Linked DNA regions of Homo sapiens: region 2 is linked to region 1. Evidence: promoter capture Hi-C in 16 types of primary human blood cells and fetal thymus (Javierre and others, 2016). All regions are on one chromosome and are shown on one strand. Each heading gives the region's core, a stretch centred on a gene start or on the middle of the fragment in contact. The rest is flanking DNA. Distances are from core to core; before and after follow the strand shown. Region 1 holds the start of DGCR2 (DiGeorge syndrome critical region gene 2). Region 2 has its middle 72 kb from the start of SEPTIN5.

Region 1 (4,081 bases), core at 629-3,128:
CCAGTTGGCAGGCTATGTGAAAAGGCTGGCAAGGAAAAAGGAGTCGGGGACGTCAGTCACCTCTATCACCCAGGCAGGAGATGCTGGGCCTGGAACCAGAGGCACCCCAAAGAAGCCAGGCATAATATGGCCTCACCTGAGCCCGGTGACCTCATCTGCAAAACTGGGACTCAAGAATCAGAAAACGGTGACCTTCTACCTCTCTACACGTACATATATGTTTTCTAAAGAAGTTAATCACAAGAATCCACAAACCCATTGGTTCTGACCTCCAAGAGCCTATATGATACCCTCCTCCACAGGTAGCCCTTTTCCTGGCTTCTGTTCTTACCAAGGCCACCCCACAACTAGTCATCCCGCTGCCCAGAGAGCAGCCAAAAGCAGTGAGCAACTAGCTCTACATGGGGAGACCAGAGAAGCATCACTGAATCTGTCCAGGTTGAGCACCGGTCAGGGCCTTGGCCACCAGGCAGGCACTAGGGAGGAGGCAGACATTCCACATAGATGACACAAGCGCAGAGCCAAGAGGTGCGGTGTATCTGGGCTGGGAGCCTGGCTAGGGCACAGGAGAGGGCCACACACCCCGTGCTCCCACACCCAGGTCATCAGAGAAGATGGCCCTGGCACTTCTGCCTTCATGGGACCTTTCCTCCATTAAGAAATATTAAGAGTCATGCTTTTTCACTGTATTAGTATAAAGATGACTGTATTAATATACATACGAAAACATTTTATTTGACCTAAAAGTTCATTTTTTTTCTGCTGACTTTAAAAAAAAATAAAATAACATTCGAAGGCTACTAAAAGTACCGTGGGCAAGTGATACCAGGATTCCTGTGCCTGATGGATACATCGGCCCTGCATTTAGGGAGTTTGATTTTTTGGTGCAGTTCAAGGGGAGGTACACCGAAATAGGTAGAAAAGGGTCTCCTGGTTGCCACGGTTCTGATTCCCCACCACAGACTTAAGAACACACTAGCTCCGAGGGGAGTTCCAAAGCACGGACTCATTCATCACATACACGCAGCACGGCTAAGGGCCCCGCACAGTGGCGAGGTCTCTGCTCCCGGGACGCTCGCGCCGGCCACACAACGCTAGGCTGACTCCTGGTGCCTCCTCTAGGCCCGGTGGGACCTGAGGACTTCCTTAGCGCAACGTCTCACTGAATGACAGCCACAACCACCGCTGTCCAGGCGAGGAGTTTCCAGGACTGAGAGGCTGGCACTAGGCCACTGCTGGGAGGACGTCTGTGAAACCAGGTGCCCCTGAGAGCCACTGTCCCCAGCCCGACTCCGACGCTGGACTGGCGAGAGGGTGCGCCCGTGGCGTAGCTCCTGGCCGCCGCCGCTCCCGGGAAGGGCCCAGAGGCAACATCCTGGACAGCAGAGCTGCACGAAGTCCGAGGCGCCGCGAGCCCAGGTAAGCTCCAGCAGGCGTCCGCAGAGAGTGCCAGGCGGCCCGCGAGCCAGGCCCCGCCCGCCCCTGCCCCAGGCGCGGCCCCTGCAGGAGGGCGCCGCGGGTGAAAGGAGGTCCCGGGGCGACCCCGGCCCCGCTCGCCGCCCAGCCCCCACACCGCCCCCATCGCGCGGCGCACCTGGCCGCAGCGGCTCGGTGACAGTGAGCACGAGCAGGAAGAGCAGCAGGAAGGCGCCGCTGTCTGCCTTGGGCACCATTTATCCTCCGTTCATCGTCCCCGGGGCGGCTGGAAGGCCGGACCAGGCCGGACTGAGGGTCAGGGGACCGTGCCAAGCGGAGGGTCAGGCGGAGCTGAACCTGGGCGAGGCGCGGAGAGGCGGCGGGAAAGAGCTTCGGCTGGGCCGCGGGCTGGCGCACACTCTCGGCTGCAACCTCAGGCACCGACTCCAGCTGCGCGCAAGATGGCGGCCGTCCTGCTCGGCTCCGCGCCGCGCCGCCCCGCCCCGCCTCCCGCCCGCGACGCAGGCGCGGGCCAATGACCGTCAAGATGGGGGGCGGGGCCAGAGCCAAAGCCCTCCGAAGAGGGTGAGGCCTAAGGTCGCGACGGCGGAGGGCGGGGACCTAAGGGCGGGGACTGAGGGGCGGGCTCTAAGGGAAGGGCGGGACCATACGGAGTGAGGCGTGCCATTGGTTAAGCAGAGAGGCAGGGCCGGGGCCGGGGCCTGAGCGGCGGGGCCACCGAAGGGAGTAGGGTCTCTGGACGCCGGTTAGGGACGGCGGGCGCGGGACGGCAAGGATGGACATCGAAAGGCGCGGGGCATGGGGCGGGGCGCCGAGGGGTCGCGCGGGTGGGGAGCGGAGAGAACGAAGTGGGAACCTGGCTGGGACTCCAAGGGTCTTCACACCTGCAAGCTCAGGTCCCGTGAGCAGCCCAAAAGTGCGCCCCAAAGGGGTCTTTTTAAGGCCGAACCGCTGTGGAGGAGGGAGGGCCTGCCGGTTCTGAGGGTGGGGAAAGAGGAACAGGAATGGCCTAAGAGAGTGTCAGGCAAAGAGAGACCGGGAAGGCCAGGTCCTGGAGACTGCAGCGAAGCCGGCTCCCTGGAGGACCTGCCTACACAATGGCTAGGGGAAGGCCACATGTGCAGGAAAGAAAGCTAGGCAGAGAGGAGGCTCAGCGCCCCTGCGAACAGTGCTCCAAGTGCCACTTCTCCCGTCATCACCAACAGGGTGAACCTTGGAGGGCAGTGTCGGCGAAGAGTCCAACTCTGTAAAATATTTGAAGACATTTCTTCTGAGCCAATATGTGACCAATAGCCTGGGACACAGCCCCAGGAGATCCTGACAAGTGCCCAAGGGGGTAGGGCCACAGCTTGGTTTTATACATTTTAGGGAGACAAGACATCAATCAGCACATGTAAGATATACATTGGTTCAGTCGGAAAAGGCGGGACAACTTGAAAGTGGGGGGTGGAGGGGGGCTTCTAGGTCATGCGGATTGGCAGTTGGTTCAAAGAGTTTATCTAAAGACCTGGAATCAATAAAAGGGACTGTCTACATTAAGGGGTTGTGGAGACCAAGTTTCTTAGGCAAATGAAGCCTCCAGGTATCAGGCTTCACAGAGAAAAGACTGTTAATGTTTCTTATTAAAAAGTGCCAGACTCTGCCGGGTGTGGTGGCTCACGCCTGTCATCCCAGCACTTTGGGAGGCCAAGGCGGGCGGATCACCTGAGGTCAGGAGTTCAAGATCAGCCTGGCCAACATGGTGAAACCACATCTCTACTAAAAATACAAAAGTTACCCAGGCGTGGTGGCACACGCCTGTAATCCCAGCTACTCAGGAGGCTGATGGCAGGAGAATCGCTTGAACCGGGGAGGCAGAGGTTGCAGTGAGCCAAGATCATGCCACTGCACTCCAGCCTGGGCAACAGAGTAAGACTCTGTCTCAAAAAAAAAAAAAAAAAAAAGGAAAAAAAAAAGGAAAAATAAATAAAAGGTGCCAGACTCTAGTTAATTCTCTCAGGAGAAAAGACCTTGAAAGGGATAGGGATTCTCTACAGAATGTAGATTTTCCCCACAAAAAACAGCTTTGCAGAGCGACTTCAAAATATGTGAAAGAAACCTGTTTTGCAGTAAAATATGTGTTTCCTTCCGGGCCTGCTGTCATGCTGGTATCTTACTGCCACAGAGTCTGTTGTCAGTCTTCAAGTCTCTGTGTCGATGTTACACTGCTTAGCTGTGCCTGAAACCTGAAGGGAGGAGGGATAATGAGGCCTGACTCCCACTTCCTATCACGGCCTGAAATAGTTTTTCAGGTTAAGTTTGGAATGCCCTTGGTGGAGAGGAGGGGTCCATTCAGATGGCTGGGGGGTTAGAGTTTTATTTTTGGTTTCCAGGAGACAGTAGTTGGGGTGTCCCCAGCGGGAAGGAGAAGGAGGCTGTCTGGAAGGAGGAGAACCAAGAATGCACAAAGGCCTGGCAGTGGGCAGTCAGCGTTAGGGAAGAAGGTGAAGGAGCAGAGAAAAGGGGGAAGGGCCACGGCAGGTGGGGACCCAACCCAACATGAGTGACAACCAGCCCGCCCTACCAAGTCATCCTGAGGGGCCCAGGGTTCCACTTGGCTCCTGTGAGAAAGGGGTGCTCACTCCCTCTAGGTGGATGAGGCCAA
Region 2 (4,081 bases), core at 817-3,316, 520 kb after region 1:
AACCAATTGGGTGGCACTAAGCACATCCACAGATTGTGCCACCATCTCCACCATCCGTCTCCAGGACTTTTCAACCGTCTCCACCATCTGGCTCCAGGACTCTTCAGCTTCCCACCACAAACTATCCCCATGAAGCACTCATTCCCCATCCCCATTCTCCTCCCCTTGCCCCTGGCGCCTACCATTCTATTTCTGTCTCCGTGGATTTGACTCCTCTAGGGTACCTCATGTAAGTGGAACCATGCAGTATTTGTATTTGTCTTTCTGTGACTGGTTTATTTCACTGAGCATAATGACCTCAGAGTTCATCCCTGTTGTAACATGTGTCACAATTCCTTCTTTCTTTTTTTTTTTTTTTTTTTTTTTTTTGGCAAGGTCTCACTCTGTCACTCAAGCTGGAGTGCAATGGTAGGATCATGGCTCACTGCAGCTTCAAACTCCTGGGCTCAAGAGCTCCTCCTGCCTCAGTCTTCCCAGTAGCTGGGACTATAGGCATGCACCACCATGCGTGGCTAGCATTTTATTTTTGTTGAGAGAGGGTCTCGCTAGGTTGCAATTCTCCCATCTTAGCCTCCAAAGTGCTGGGATAACAGGTGTGAGCCACTGCACCCGACCCAGAATTTCCTCCTTTTGACGGCTGAGTGATGTTCCATTGTCCGCACACACACATTTTGTTTATCCTTTCATCCATTGATGGACACTTGTGTTGCCTCCACCTACTCGTAGCACCCTGGCTGTTATGAGTAGTGAGTGCACTATCTCTTGTGTGCAGTTGTCTCATGGAGACCTTGCTTTCCTGCCTGTGGCGTTAGTGCAGGTGGCAGGCAGGTCGGTGGGCAAGCAGGTGTGCCCTGTGGATGACGAGAAGCTTTTTCTGCTTAAAGCCCTGCATGGATCAAAAGTTGGAAAATATATTTGATTTTTACAATTTGTTCAAAATTAATCAAGCAAACACTGATTTTCATGTATTTTCTGAGATCTCTGCTATAAAACAGAAAACCACCACCCTCTTTCCAGGGAAGCATCTTCTTCCTGGCTCCCTCCTTCCCTTCGGGCCATGGCGGCATCCTCGGATCCTCCCTAGCCCATTCATATCACACGGCTTTTCCTCCTCTGCATCTCGATACCACTGGCTCCTTTGGGAGGTTCCTCTGAGCCACCCATGCGCGGGGTGGGTTGTCATGAAAAGTCACCAGTTCCACCTCCAGCCAGAAGTCCCACAAAAGCGAAGGGCACTGAAGACAAAACCACCCTTCCCTTCTCTAAAGGAGGAGGGGCGGTGCTTCAGAGGGTGTCCCCCAAACCCGTTCTTTAGAGCAGGGTCCCCAACCCCTGGGCTGCGGAGTGGTACAGGTCTGTGGCCTGTTAGGAACGGGCCTCAGAGCAGGAGGTGTGCGGTGGGCGAGTTTACCGCCGAGCTCCGCCCCCTGTCGGATCAGCTGGGCATTCCATGCTCATGGGAGGCAAACTCTATCGTGAACTGCGCATGTGAGGGATCCAGGTGGTGCGCTCCTTCCGGGAATCTAATGTCTGATGATCAGAGGTGGAACAATTTCACCCCGAAACTATCCCCCACCCAACCCCATCGGTGGAAAAATTGTCTTCCACGAAACCGGTCCCTGGTGCCAAGAAGGTTGGGGACTGCTACTTTAGAGCATGTCCTCGGAGTGGAGGTACCTGCTCTCCACGCAGTACAGCATCTGGCTGTGTGGTGGCTGCAGTCCAGTGGGTCTGAGAGGGGTGGAGGGGGAAGGTGGAGAAGGAGAGGAGGGAGGAGGGGAGGGAGGGAAAGGTGAGAGGGGAAGACGAAGGGAAGGAGAAGAGGTGGGGGAGGGGGCAGGGGGGCAGCATTGGCCAGGTAAGGGCGTGTCCACTGTGAGGCACCGTGGGATTCCTGGGCGAGGACTGTGAGACACTGGTGAGCGTGTGTGCAGGGCTCTTTCGGGCTTCCTCTGTTTTTAATGACATCAGAGTGCGTGCCATGCATGGGGCTGTCCTGGTGTTGGCACTGACCGCTTGGAGCCCAGCTGCTGCCCCCTTTCTCAGGCCACAGATGCGCCCAAGAGCAGGGTTTGTCCAGGCCCGCCTGGGCCCGCTCCACGCCATCCTGCAGTGCCCACGCAGCAGCGGTGCCAGGTCTTCCTTCAGCACCCATGCGTGGTTACCTGTGGCCGATGTGGCAGGCGTGTAGGGTGTGACTGCAGAACTGCATGGACCAAGCACCGTCTGCCTCCTAAGGGAGCAATGGGACCGAGGAAGTGGGCCCCATGTTGGCCTTGACCAGCTGTGCCCACCTCCTTTTGGGAACAGATGTGCCAAGAACAACCAGGCTAAGGAAACGTGGCTCGCACACCGGGAGCCCTGGGGAAAGACTACAACGATCCTTTTAATAATACTTTTTACTGACTGTAGTCATAGTGTAATAATTTCAGAAAATTCAGAAACCATAGAAAAGTATACAGAAGAAAATTAAAATTACCTGGTGCCCCCACCAAGCCACAGTGATCATTGTTCAAGCATTAACAAATTTTCCTGGATTTTGGTAAACAGATATAAGTGCATATTTTAAGTGGAAATATTCTATATTTAGTTTTGATCCTTGTTTTCATCCCTTTAAAAGGATTTTTCATATTATTCAATCATCTCCTAAAATACAGTTACCAGTAACTGCCTTCATTCCATTAGATGCTGAAATGGATTTAACTGTTCTCTGGTGGTTAGTCATATATTCTTGTTTCTTTCTTCTTTCCTGGTATACATAATATTGGGAACATCTTGGAACAAGATGGCTGTACTCAATTATTGAAATTCCTAAACGATAAATGACTGGAGGAGAATCCTGGATCAAGGAGGGGCTCCTGGAAGTGCTCTGGGCCCTGCTGGAGGCACAGGCCTTGGCCACAGGCCACCACACATACCCTTTGGAAAGAGACTTTGCCATTGTGATCGGCCAAAAATGAAACCTCACTTTATTTTATTGTGAGACAGTGTCTCATTATGTCACCCAGGCTGGACTGCAGGCTCACTGCAGCCTCGACCTCCTGGGCTCAAGAGATCCTCCCACCTCAGCCTCCCTAGTAGCTGGGACCACAGGTGGGCGCCACCATGCCAGGCTAATTTTGTATTTTTTGTAGAGATGGCATTTAGCCATGTTGGCCAGGCTGGTCTCAAACTCCTAGGCTCAAGGGATTCGCTCATCTTGGCCTCCCAAAGTGCTGGGATTACAGGTGTGAGCCACCACGCCCAGCCTTTTTCACTTAATTTTGAAGCTTGGAGATAAGTTTTATATAGGCCCATATACGGCTGCCTGAAACCTCACTTTAAAACTAGGTATATTTGTTTGCTGCCTGCTGAGGCTGAGTGCTCATTGCCTGTTGCTTGGCTATTTGTAATTGTCTTTTGTGAATTGCTTTTTCTTATCATTTGCCCATTTTTGTACTGGAATGTTTACCTCTTCCTGGCTGATGTGCAAAAGCTCTTCAATTCCCTTGTCATATGCCTTCCAGCATGTTATCATGGCCTTTGCACGTCTATGGGTTTCCATGGCCAGACCTCTGGCTTCTTATCTTCACGGCATCACCTTTGCTCCTATGCTTAGACGATGCTTGCACATTTGAGGGAAAGGGAGCATTTTCCTGTTTTTCCCCTGTATTTGGTTTATTACATTTGGCTCTTAAATCCGGTGGTTCCCAGTTAGGGGTATGCATCAGATTTCCCAGGAGGGCTTTTCTAACCATAAGTGCCTGCCTCAGTCCATCCAGATCTTCCCATCAGCCCCCAGGGTGGGGCGGGTGATGGCGGGTGGGGGTACAGCCTTGTTTTGGAAAAAGTGCCATAGATGGTGCAGATGCAAGCCTCTGATTATGGGCTTCTTCCTTCTGCCACATGTGTGATGTAAGATAAGGATGCTATTTTTATTGGCTTATATTTTAAGAATAGCTGATTGCACAAGTATATTTATTGTGCAAACGTGCCTTCTTTCCCCACTCAGTGACATTATATCTAAACCAAATTCTCAATTATAACACGGGAACGTTTCCCTTTAGCCTGCGAAGATCCAGTGTCTCGGTTATGGTGTTTC

What was found. The method cuts DNA at HindIII sites, captures the fragments that hold promoters and counts their contacts. A CHiCAGO score of 5 or more calls a contact.
Region 2: a fragment that was not itself captured here is called in contact with the fragment with the promoter of DGCR2 in region 1 in 1 of 17 cell types (activated CD4 T cells); the score reaches 5.0 in activated CD4 T cells.

What each region holds. Positions count from the first base shown.
Region 1 is chr22:19,120,534-19,124,614 of GRCh38, forward strand. It overlaps DGCR2 (DiGeorge syndrome critical region gene 2), which reads right to left and starts at 1,879. Exons shown (of 10, transcript NM_005137.3): 1 at 1,595-1,879. The coding sequence starts at 1,673. RefSeq lists an enhancer at 1,238-1,739 and silencers at 1,524-1,643, 1,764-2,203. The HindIII fragment of the contact is 21,190 bases long and covers 1-4,081 here.
Region 2 is chr22:19,640,141-19,644,221 of GRCh38, forward strand. No RefSeq gene overlaps it. Among named protein-coding and RNA genes, the nearest start is that of SEPTIN5, 72 kb to the right of the region's middle. The HindIII fragment of the contact is 2,401 bases long and covers 867-3,267 here.